3 separate regions of the Homo sapiens genome follow, and all the other regions are linked to region 1. Evidence: promoter capture Hi-C in 16 types of primary human blood cells and fetal thymus (Javierre and others, 2016). All regions are on one chromosome and are shown on one strand. The core of a region is centred on a gene start or on the middle of the fragment in contact, and the rest is flanking DNA. Distances in the headings are between cores, read along the strand shown. Region 1 holds the start of P3R3URF (PIK3R3 upstream open reading frame). Region 2 overlaps NASP (nuclear autoantigenic sperm protein). Region 3 overlaps GPBP1L1 (GC-rich promoter binding protein 1 like 1).

The links. The method cuts DNA at HindIII sites, captures the fragments that hold promoters and counts their contacts. A CHiCAGO score of 5 or more calls a contact.
Region 2: a contact is called between a fragment that was not itself captured here and the fragment with the promoter of P3R3URF in region 1, in 4 of 17 cell types (erythroblasts, M1 macrophages, fetal thymus and 1 more). The highest score is 9.1, in erythroblasts.
Region 3: a fragment that was not itself captured here is called in contact with the fragment with the promoter of P3R3URF in region 1 in 3 of 17 cell types (endothelial precursors, M0 macrophages and erythroblasts); the score reaches 9.6 in endothelial precursors.

What each region holds. Positions count from the first base shown.
Region 1 is chr1:46,174,441-46,178,188 of GRCh38, reverse strand. It overlaps P3R3URF (PIK3R3 upstream open reading frame), which reads left to right and starts at 1,701. Exons shown (of 2, transcript NM_001328655.2): 1 at 1,701-1,961; 2 at 2,560-2,703. The coding sequence starts at 1,718. The coding sequence ends at 2,603. P3R3URF-PIK3R3 (P3R3URF-PIK3R3 readthrough) reads left to right here and starts at 1,701. Exons shown (of 10, transcript NM_001303427.2): 1 at 1,701-1,961. The coding sequence starts at 1,718. TSPAN1 (tetraspanin 1) reads right to left here and starts at 3,102. Exons shown (of 9, transcript NM_005727.4): 1 at 2,780-3,102. It also overlaps a transcript of PIK3R3 not described here. The HindIII fragment of the contact is 5,416 bases long and covers 1-2,630 here.
Region 2 is chr1:45,610,388-45,614,135 of GRCh38, reverse strand. It overlaps NASP (nuclear autoantigenic sperm protein), which reads right to left. Exons shown (of 15, transcript NM_002482.4): 7 at 888-967; 8 at 1-40. Among named protein-coding and RNA genes, the nearest start is that of CCDC17, 12 kb to the left of the region's middle. The HindIII fragment of the contact is 216 bases long and covers 1,730-1,945 here.
Region 3 is chr1:45,644,220-45,647,967 of GRCh38, reverse strand. The region is part of intron 6 of GPBP1L1 (GC-rich promoter binding protein 1 like 1); the gene reads left to right. It also overlaps the pseudogene RPS15AP10. Among named protein-coding and RNA genes, the nearest start is that of CCDC17, 22 kb to the right of the region's middle. The HindIII fragment of the contact is 647 bases long and covers 1,612-2,258 here.

The DNA of each region.
Region 1 (3,748 bases), core at 452-2,951:
GACAGGGTTTCACCATGTTGACCAGGCTGCTCTCGAGCTCCTGACCTCAAGTCATCCACCCACCTCGGGCTCCCAAAGTGCTGGGATTACAGGCGTGAGCCACCGCACCTGGAACCTTTCTGTTTCATTCTCAGGAAGAATTGGGACCAGATTACATTCATCTATGGCCCTGGTGCTTGGCACATAAGAAGTTGTCAGTGAACATTTCCTGAGTGAATGAGTGCAGAATAATGAGAGTTAAGTGCTCTGGGTTTTGGATCTTGATCATCATGGATTTGCTTCCTGCCTGCCTCTAATTGTGTGACTTCACCTCACTGAGCCCCAGTTTCCTTATACAGTGGATCCTCCTTATTCACAGATTCCATACCTGTGAATTTGCCTGCTTACTGAAATTTATTTGTAATTCCCAAACCAGTACTTGTGGTACTTTTGCAGTCATTCATGGACATGAGCAGAAAGGCAAAAAATTTCAGCCGTCCAACACACGTATTTCCAGCTGAGGTCTGTTGAGCAAGAGGACTCTCTGTCTTCTTATTTCAGTTTTCATAGAGTAAACAAATGTGCTTTTTGGTGGTCTATTTAGTGACGCATATTCTCACATTTTTTGGTGTTTTTTGCTGGTGATTTTACTGTCTAAAATGGTCCCCAGTTGTAGTGCTGAAGTGCTCTCTAGTCTTTCTAAGTGCAAGAAGGCTGTGATGTGCCTTATAGGGGAAATATGTGCTTTAGATAAGTTTCATTCAGGCACAAGTTATAATGCTGTTGGCTGTGAGTTCAATGTCAATGACTCAAATATAGATAGATAGTTAGATAGATAGATAGATAGATAGATAGATATATTTTTTTTTTTTTTGAGACAGAGTTTCACTCTTGTTGCCCAGGCTGGAGTGCAATGGTGCAATCTGGGCTCACTGCAATCTCCACCTCCTGGGTTCAAGCTATTCTCCTGTCTCAGCCTCCTGAGTAGCTGGGACTACAGGCACCCACCACCACACCCAGCTAATTTTTGTATTTTTAGTAGAGATGGGGTTTTGCCATGTTAACCAGGCTAGTCTTGAACTCCTGACCTCAGGTGATCTGCCCACCTCGGCCTCCCAAAGTGCTGGGATTACAGGCTTGAGCCACCATGCCTGGCCAACAATATATATTAAATAAGGTGTCTCCACACATAAAATCAGGTTATATGTATAGATCAGTTGACAAAAATATTGTGACCAGAGGGTTTCAGGAACCTAACCTTGCATTTACCCTTTGTTCAGTATTTAGTGTTTGTGGCGACTTTATAGAACATTACTGGGAATAATGAGAATTGACTGTATATAAATAGGTATAATGATGGCATATCCTTGTAAAGTAGCTGAGATTAAATGAGATAACGTTGGTAAAGTGCTCAGCACAGTGTCTGGCACGTAGTAAGTGCTCAAAAAACATTGTTAATATTGTTACTATATGGATAAGTGAGAAAGTGAGGAAGTGAGTTCCGCCTCTAGGGCCTCTTTTCCCAAGGGGCCAAACTGAGGCTGTCTGGCTCTTGGGCTGGCTTTTAGGCCAGACCCAATAAAGAAGATTGTGAAGGAGCCTGACCCATGAGGAGGGGCCAGGGCCCACGACTTGTAATAAAGGGCCCTGCCCTTATGCAGACTTTGTATGTCATAGAGGCCTCAGCTACCCTGGCCAACAGCACCCCCCAGGCACACTGCAGAAGCTCCCTGTGCCCATGGGGCCATCTCGGCTTGTCCGTGGCCCTCGGCCCCAGGGCATGCGTTCCCCCTACCGCAGGCCAGGTATGGGCTGGCCCAGGCCCCGATTTCCCAGGATGTTCAAGTGTAGCCGCAGAAGATATCAACAGGGTCTCCGAGGTCGAACTGCCAGCAGTGCAGCCATCAATCCTGCCACCAGGGCCATGGGTATCAACAACACCCACACTGACACCACCATAGTGTGGATCTTCCCACCTCAAGGTTAGCCAGGGGGCCTGTGAGCCAGGGTGGGGTTTTAAAAAACAGAGCCACTAGGCTGGGTGCGGTGGCTCATGCCTGTAATCCCGGCACTTTGGGAGGCCAAGGCGGGCAGATCACAAGGTCAGGAGATCGAGACCATCCTGGCTAACACGGTGAAATCCCATCTCTACTAAAAATACAAAAAAAAATTAGCCGGGCGTGGTGGCACACGCCTTTAGTCCCAGCTACTTGGGAGGCTGAGGCAGGAGAATTGCTTGAACCCGGGAGGCAGAGGTTGCAGTGAGCCAAGATCGCGCCACTGCACTCCAGCCTGGGTGACAGAGCTAGACTCTGTCTCAAGAAAAAAAAAAAAAAACCAGAGCCAGTGAAGATTTCCCTACCTGGTTCTGTTTAGGCACGCCAAAGGATGATCTCTGTGAAATAGCACCCCTACATATATGGGGGACTCCTGATGGCAGGCACCCCAAAGTGCTGACAGCCTTAATGGAGGATGGATTGGCTGGAAGCAGAGGGTTTGGGGAGGGGCTGAATCCAAGAGGCAGGGAACTTCCAGAACTGCTTCCTTCCTCAAACTCTTCCCTCTCCTTCCTCTCCTCAGTTCTCAGACATCTCAGGCAACCTGGGATTTTTCTGATCCTCTAGAAGTGCCCAGAAGCTAGCCCAGAAGCTTGGTTTGCCCTGGACCTGCATCTCCTAGGGGCCGTGTGGGTGGTGAACAACAAATACAGTCATTCTGCTCAAACTGCCTTATTCCACACAGAGGTGTTAACCAGCTGACTATGCAGGGCGTGAGGGGAGGGTTATGGCTGAATACTTACAGGGAAAGGCTTCAGTGACCGCAGCAGGGATCATAGTTTAAGACAGCAGGAGGACAGGACAAGGTCAGCAACATAGACCATCTTTGGTCTCAGCTCTTGATCTGCCCCATGAAGTAGGGGCTCTCTTGCCTTACACTCCTAACTGCACAGGGAGAAGGGTCTCTGTAAACATCTTGGAAGGTATTGGGAGGCACAGATCAGAGAGGGATAGGATGAAAGACTGAACCCTGAGAGTACACAAGTATGAGGTGGATGTGAGGTGGATGTGCCTCTGTGTGCCTGTGATGGTCAGCGTGTAGGTGTAGCTGCTGGTGTGTGTGTCTGAGGCCGGGAGAATAGGAGTATCAGTAGATGTGGCTGAATGTGCCTTTGTGATTTAATGTGCCTCTGTGACTGACTGTGAGTGTCAAGGAGCGTTTGTGAGGGTATGGGTGTGCCGGAGAGGACATCAGCCCTGGTAAGAAAAGTGAAGGTCAGGAGGGGGATGGGGAACAGCCTAAAGGAGGAGAACATGGAGAAGGGTGAGATTCTGAGAAAGGCATACTACCTTCGGCCCTTCAACCATTCTCTGAGGTCAGTGTTTTCCAGAACTGGCAGCTGAGCTGGGGTGCTTAGGGGTGGGGCAAGACTGAGTTTGAGCCCAGAAAGTAGGGAGGGTGCTAAGCTCTCTGGCCTGGGGATTTTCCATTTGGATTTCTGAGTGTGTGCTCATGTGTCACTGGCTGTAACCGGGTTTCTGTGGGGTTGTGTCTTAGTCGCTGGGAACATTTTGTAGGACTCTGTCTCGAATATGTTGCATCATGCATGGGCTAATACGTGTTGCACCGGTCCGAGATCTGGCTGCATTTCCAGGCTACCTTCCCAAGGGGCTAGGGAAGGGAGTGAACCCTGAGACCTTTGGTGGCCTGGCCCCCTGGGGTTCAGGAAGTGTGGCTAATGTCCTTTGCTGCCTGTGAAGGGAAAGTGAAT
Region 2 (3,748 bases), core at 588-3,087, 560 kb after region 1:
CTAGGTTCCCAATCTCCTCCTCCTCATTTTCTTGAAGAGACTAAAGTATAACCAAATAATAAAAAGATAGGCATCTTTTTCAAATACAAATCTAAATGTATAACTTAGCGTAGCTTAAAAAAAGTTGATATACGATTCAAAATTTGGACTTTCTCCCTAAAATCTAGAGAATGGGTCCACATACTGTCTTAAGTCATGACCATGTCACTGATATTTTAACAGTGAAATGTTGGCTCACATACTAACACACAAGAACCCCAGGATCAAATATATCCACCCATCCTAGGCATGAATAAAGGGTCCCTAATCCATAATCAAGAGACAGTTATCTATAATAATCATGCCTAGGGCTGGGCATGGTGGGTTATGCCTATAATCCCAACACTTTGGGAGGCTGAGGCAGGAGAATAACTTGAAGCCAGGTTTGAGACCAGCCTGGGCAGCACAGCAAGACAGCCGTCTAAACAAAATAAAATTAGAGAACAAATTAGCCAGACATGGTGGCAGACATCTGGAGACCTAGCTATCTGAGAAGATGAGGCAGAAGGATTCCTTGAACCCAGGAGGCTAAAGATACAGTGAGCCCTGATCATGCCAGTGCACTCCGGCCTGGGCAGAGACAGAGATTCTATCTCTTAAAAAAATAATAATCGTGCCTAAACTAGGTAAGCTACAGTCCTGCAAACTAGCTGGGCATGTTGGCACAAGCCTGTAGTCCCAGCTACTTGAGAGGCTGAGGTGAGGCGATCACTTAAGCCCGGGTCTAGGCTGCAGTGAGCCATGATCATGATCACCCCACTGCAATCCAGCCTAGGCAACAAGAGTGAGCTCCAGTCTCCCAAAAACAGAAAAAGGCTGACAACAGTACTGAGTGGCTAACAACATACCTTGTTTTCAAGGACTGAATCATTTGGCATTTCTTCGGTCTTATCATTTTCTTTATCATCCTCTTCTGAGCCTTCAGTTTCTACAAGTAAAAATTCCTCAGTATTGAGAATATAACTAAGAACGTATTCTGACTAGTCAGAGATTCCAATACACGTCTCAACCTATATTCAGATAGGACAGGCCAGATGCTAATCCAAGTGAGTTAACACCTGAACTGAATATATCGTCAGTGGGTGCAGTCTAGTTCAAGTGTAACCTAGACTAAGAATGTGCAATCTTAGTCTATGGGTCAGACCTTCAGCAATTAAAAGGCTGAGTGTTTCTCTTATAAAAGTCAACCTGGACCATTCAGAATAAGAAACATTGGCTACTGCCTCTTATTCAATGGCTAGAAGCTCCCATTCATTCAGCCAGAAGCAGGTGGAGACCTCAGTCAGTGTTTCTGGTATCTTTAAGCCACTCATTAGATAATACTAATAGCCTGGGAAAGTACGAAAGTTAAATTATTCCAGTCCATTCTGATCAAGAATGCTCAAGAGACTAGCTTTCCCACAACAGAGATGTGGAGCAAAAAGCATAGTCCTTACCGACTTACACCAATGAGCATGCCACAGACTCCAGCCAGCTCTAGCACATACAGAATTTGAGTAAGGAATACTATAACCCCTATTTTACTCCTATACCTTTGCTAATGACACCTCTAAAATCTGCAGCCATATATCAACACCATATTTCACCATATTGAATACACTCACAAGTCAACCATCTAAAGGTCAGGCTCCTAATCAATAGCGCTACTGTGATTAGACAAATCAACAATGTTAAGTGATTAAAATAAGCTTTCTGTTAACACAAACAACTCATGAATTGGATATAATATGCCTCTCTCTGCCATCTTTCATTATGCATTTTTAACACCAGCAAAAAAGCTCAAACACTATCTCCAAACACTCTTACTATGGGAATATAAATATGGCAATTAGGACTTAGAGCAATCGTCAGGTCAAAGGAGTTTTATCAGCAGCAACCACAAAGAGATTCCGTTTTCAAAGAAGCTTAGAAAATACTTTAACAGGGTCAGGCGCGGTGACTCACGCCTGTAATCCCAGCTCTTTGGGAGGCCGAGGCGGGCGGATCACGAGGTCAGGAGATTGAGACCATCCTGGCGAACATGGTGAAACCCCGTCTCTACTAAAAAAAAAAACCAAAAAACAAAAAAATTAGCCAGGTGTGGTGGCAGGCGCATGTAGTCCCAGCTACTTGGGAGGCTGAGGCAGGAGCATGGCGTGAACCCAGGAGGTGGAGCTTGCAGTGAGCGGATTATCGCACCACTGCACTCCAGCCTGGGTGACAGAGCAAGACTCCGTCTCAAAAAAAAAAAAAAAAAAAAAAGATACTTTAACAAATTTACTGAGGACATCAGGGCATTGCCATTGATACCTGGGCACAAGTTGGGAAAGGTTTTAAAGTAATGGCAATGGCTGCCAGGCGCGGTGGCTCACACCTGTAATCCTAGCACTTTGGGAGGCCAAGGTGGGCAGATCACCAGGTCAGGAGATTGGGACCATCCTGGCTAACACGGTGAAACCCCGTCTCTACTAAAAATACAAAAAATTAGCCAGGCGTGGTGGCACATGCCTGTAGTCCCAGCTACTCGGGAGGCGGAGGCAGAACAATCACTTGAACCTAGGAGGCGGAGGTTGCAGTGAGCCTAGATCACGCCACTGCATTCCAGCCTGGGTGACAGAGCAAGACTCTGTCTCAAAAAAAAAAAAAAAAAAAAAAAAAAAAGTAATGGCGATGGCTTTCTCCTTAACCTAGCTCCCCACCATTCCTTGAAGATGGTACAGATTCCTCAAGAGGAACCAGTAATATTCTTCTGAAGCAATTATAGGAATTTTAATTTAAAAATTTGATGTAAAACTTCCAAGTAATTAAGATATTTTGTTTCAAATTAGAGGTTGTCTTCTAGTATTCTGGTATGAGTAGGAAGAGATACCAGGTAAGAATAGAAGATAACAATATCAATTTAATTTTTCCTACAAATTGGGAAGATGAAGTATTTACTTTTCTATCAATTATCCTACATATGTAAATCTACTTCAGCTTTTCTGCATATTCTGCTAGAGGATGGGCAGAGTTAATAAGACCATCCATCTGGTCTAACTTTGGGGAACTAAGCCCGGACCCACTTGGAAATGTGGATATGAGAAGATAATGGTGTATGGTGGGCCAGGTGCAATGGTTCACACCTGTAATCCCAGCACTCTGGGAGGCTGAGGCTAGTGGATCACCTGAGGTCAGGAGTTCGAGACCAACCTGGCCAGCATGGTGAAATCCCATCTCTAGTAAAAATACAAAAAAATTAGTCGGGCCTGGGGACATGTGCCTTTAGTCCCAGCTACTCAGGAGGCTGACGTAGGAGAATCGCTTGAACCTGGGAGATGCAGGTTGCAGTGAGCGAGACCGCACCACTGCACCCCAGCTGGGCATGGTGATACACACCCATAGTCTCAGCTGCCTGAGAGACTGAGGGAGGAAGATGGCTTCAGCATAGGAGTTTGAGGCTGTCGTGAGCCATGACTGCGATGCCACTGTACTCCAGCCTGGCAAAAGAGCAAGACCCGATTCAAAGAGAAAAAGAACAGACCAATTATCTTTATTAGAAGCAAATGTACAGCCCAACACATGGCAAAGAGTCAAGAGGTGGCAGTAAACAGGGTTTTAATTTTTAAGTGAAAAAAACTGCTTGGAAGTTTTCTGCAGAATGGTGCTGCCACGTAAAGGGAAATAAAGCACAGAAAGTAAGTGGTTGAGTACTCAAGCCAGAAGTTTGGGTAGCAGGCTTCTCCTTACTGTG
Region 3 (3,748 bases), core at 686-3,185, 530 kb after region 1:
CCCTGTCTCAAAAAAAAAGAAAAAAACATACACACAGACATATATGCATACATACAAGGAGCAGCCACTACCCTTAGGGCTAAGACAGTGTGTCCAAGAATGAGTCCCCCATTTCCCTACCACCACCCCAGGGCTGAGATTCATACCTGGTTAGAAAGGGCTCAGTTGTGGCTCACTGAATGGCAGAGTAATTGCTGATGTGCTTCTCTGGGGAAGCGTGCTGAAAGGCTTTTCATGAGAGGTGTCACTCTGCTACAAAACTACTCAGATGAGGTGCTGAGGGAAGCTGCTGGTCTCTGAGCTCACTTATATGTCAGAACCTGGCTTTGAGGAACTGGGTGCTGTGGGAGCCTGCTGAAAAACACACAGGAACAGGAAGTAAAAATCTCTCCATTGTTCTCCGCTGGCAGAAGTTAACATGCCAGCTGTCAAAGGAAAAGTTTTAAAGTGTCCAGGCACATTTTTGCTCAACAGGCAGAAGGGATGACTTTGTGACTAAGAAGCGGTAACCAGCACAGGGTTCTATCGTTGTTCATGCTAGCTGGCCACTATACCCTTCCAGAACAAAGCCCGTCACTGAGGACAAACTGTTGGAAATATAATCCAGATTGAGCTGCAGAGAGACAAGTTAGTAGAGACGAAAGGAAAGGTTCAGATAAAAGCGGTAGGGAGAAGATAACCAGGACATTAAAGAACGTAAACCCGGGAGGCAGAGGTTGCAGTGAGCCAAGATCGCACCATTGCACTCCGGCCTGGGCAACAAGAGTATGAAACTTGGTCTCAGAAAAAAAAAAAAAAAAATCCTAAGAAGTTGGTTTAAAAAAAAAAATCATCTGGGAAAACTCAAAATAAGGGGCTAGAACTCTTGAAAAGAAGTAATAATAAAAAATTTCAGAAAAATACTGAAGAATAAAGAGAATAAATAATATTTTTCAAGAATTAGACAGCGAAGGAAAATTTTTTAAATGAAGGAGAAATACATAGGTAAAAAATTAAAACTGGGAAAAAAAAGTTTGGCAGAAAAGATCTAATATAGATATATAATAGGATCTTCCCACCCCGCCCCCAGAAAGAAAACCAAAATAAAGGAATAGCTTAAATACTGACAAGTGGCCGGGTACGGTGGCTCACACCTGTAATCCCAGCAGTTTGGGAGGCCGAGGGGGGCAGATCACGAGGTCAGGAGATCGAGACCATCCTGACTAACATGTTGAAACCCTGTCTCTACTAAAAATACAAAAAATTAGCCAGGCATGGTGGCGGGCGCCTGTAGTCCTAGCTACTCGGGAGGCTGTGAGGCAGGAGAATGGCGTGAACCCGGGAGGTGGAGCTTGCAGTGAGCTGAGATCGCGCCACTGCACTCCAGCCTGGGGACAGAGTGAGACTCCGTCTCAAAAAAAAAAAAAATACTGAAAAGTATAATTCAGGAACATTTTTCTGAAATACATTTAGATTTGAATCTACAAATTGAAAGGATAGCCAGGATGACTAAGACATACTCTTACAAAATACTAGACTTGAACAAAAAAAGAAAGATATCCTTTGGCCATTCAGGCATAAAGACTGAGTTGTTAAGAGAAAGAAAACCAGATAGACTGTGACAGCAAAGCTTTATAACAAGTAAATGGAGTAACAATTACAATAAAGAAAATGTGAGCCAAAGATTTTGTGCTTTGTCAAGCTAATGTTCAGTTATAAAGATCACAGACAAACATCAATGTGTAAGTACTTGGAATATTGCTCTTTCCGGCATTGTTTCGCGCTGCCACAATGGTGTGTGTGAACATCCTACCTGTTGCTCTCAAGAGTATCACCAATGCCGAAAAGAGAGGGAAACGCCGGTTCTTACTAGGCCATGCTCCAAAGTCATTGTCCAACTTCTAGCTGTGATGATGAAGCATCGTTACATTGGCAAATTTGAAATCATTGATGATAACAGAGCTGGGAAAATTGTGAACCTCACAGGCAGGCTAAACAAGTGTAGAGCCCCAGCTTTGATTTGCAACTCAAAGATCTAGAAAAACGGCAGAACAATCTGCTTCTATCCCAACCATTTGACTTCGTCATATTGACAGCCTTAGCTGGTATCATGGACCATGAAGAAGCAAGACGAAAACACACAGGAGGGAAAATCCTTGGATTTTGTTTCTAGGGATGCAATACATATTTACAAATAAAATGCCTCAAAAAAAAAAAAAACAAAAAACTTCGGAATATCGTTCCCAAGACTTTTCCTGAGAACTACTGAAGAACAAGCTTCTGACAAACTAACCAGAAAGATTACAAAAGGAATGGTGGTAAATACTAAATGTATGGTTAATTGTAGAGCTAAGAAGAAATGAGGGTTAAAAGAGAGTTAGCATGTGATAGTTATATGATCTCACAATCTGGACATAGTATAACTTTTTTAAAGTGGGAAGATGGGGAGAACATGTCCAAAAAAAACAAAACATTTTGGTCACTGGTGAAATACTGACATTGCTATTCTGAAACTTGTGCATAATATGGAATAAAGCAATTAAATATGATATTCTATACTTTGTATGCTTGAGAATCAGGATTCTTGTAGGAGGAAATAAAAACGTAAAATAGATGTTCCGTAAAATCCACAAGGGTACTCAGTTTGAATTGGGAATATCAGTAATAAGTTATGAGGTGTTTTAGCTTTGGAGTGAAAAATACATACTTCTAGGCGGTTCTGTCCACTGAAAAGACATAAAAACAGTGAACAACCCCATAGCAATGAGTGGCTCTACTGCCTGGATTGTGATCTTGAAATAGTTTATCCAGACAGCATACTTAAAAGAAGAGCTTGGAATATTTTTTCAAACTAGATAACAAAGAAGTAAAGAACTACTTAGGGTTGTAGCAAAAGGATTTAGAAGCCAAATTGAAGAGGGTTCCATAGGCCAAACATGGGACAGTTTTATGCATCAATTAATAATAATAACGACGAGGGTTGAATCACATCAAATTGGATTTAAATCTGTGAATTCACAATGATACCTACCTCACCTTAGGAACAAGCATGTATCATATTTTTTCTATATGAACTGTACTGTTGAATTGCCAAATAGGGGAAGTTCCTATTTATGGAAGTATACTACTTTATAAAGAATTGTAAAATTAGATCATTGTTTTTGCATCTTGTATTGAGCTGACAGTTTTAGGCTATGAGCACCAGTGTCTGCCAGCATCACTAAAAGAAGCACAACCACATGTTATTTGTGTGTGTCTCCTAATGGAAGAATACAAAACCACTAAGGATTCTGTAACCTCTAGAACCAACTACCAATTTATAGAAAGAGGCTTAAGATTTTCTAAAAACTAGTAGATTAAAAGCTGAGATTGTTTTTGGAGACAAAACTATAGTGTCAAGGGAGACACAATGGGTTAGTAAAAAAAAAAAATGCAGTGATCACCATAAGTATGAGTAGTTTTGGGGTTTTTTTCTAATGAGATTTGTAATGTCTTTCTGGTTTGTCTGGTAATGTTATGTTGCTTAAACCATGTAGTGTTTAAAAGAACTTTTACCCATTAACTTATTCATTTGTTTTATATTTTTCCTGTTTATATTTTACAAGTTTTAAAACTGTATTTTTTAAAACAGTAGAAAGAGATCAAAGATACTGTATAAATAGGAGCATTGTCTCTGAGAACCCTGGGTACAACATGCCTATTAAAATGAAACAAGGAAACAACCACAGCTTTTATGGCTGGGCACTCCTTCTGCCTCTACCACTCCATC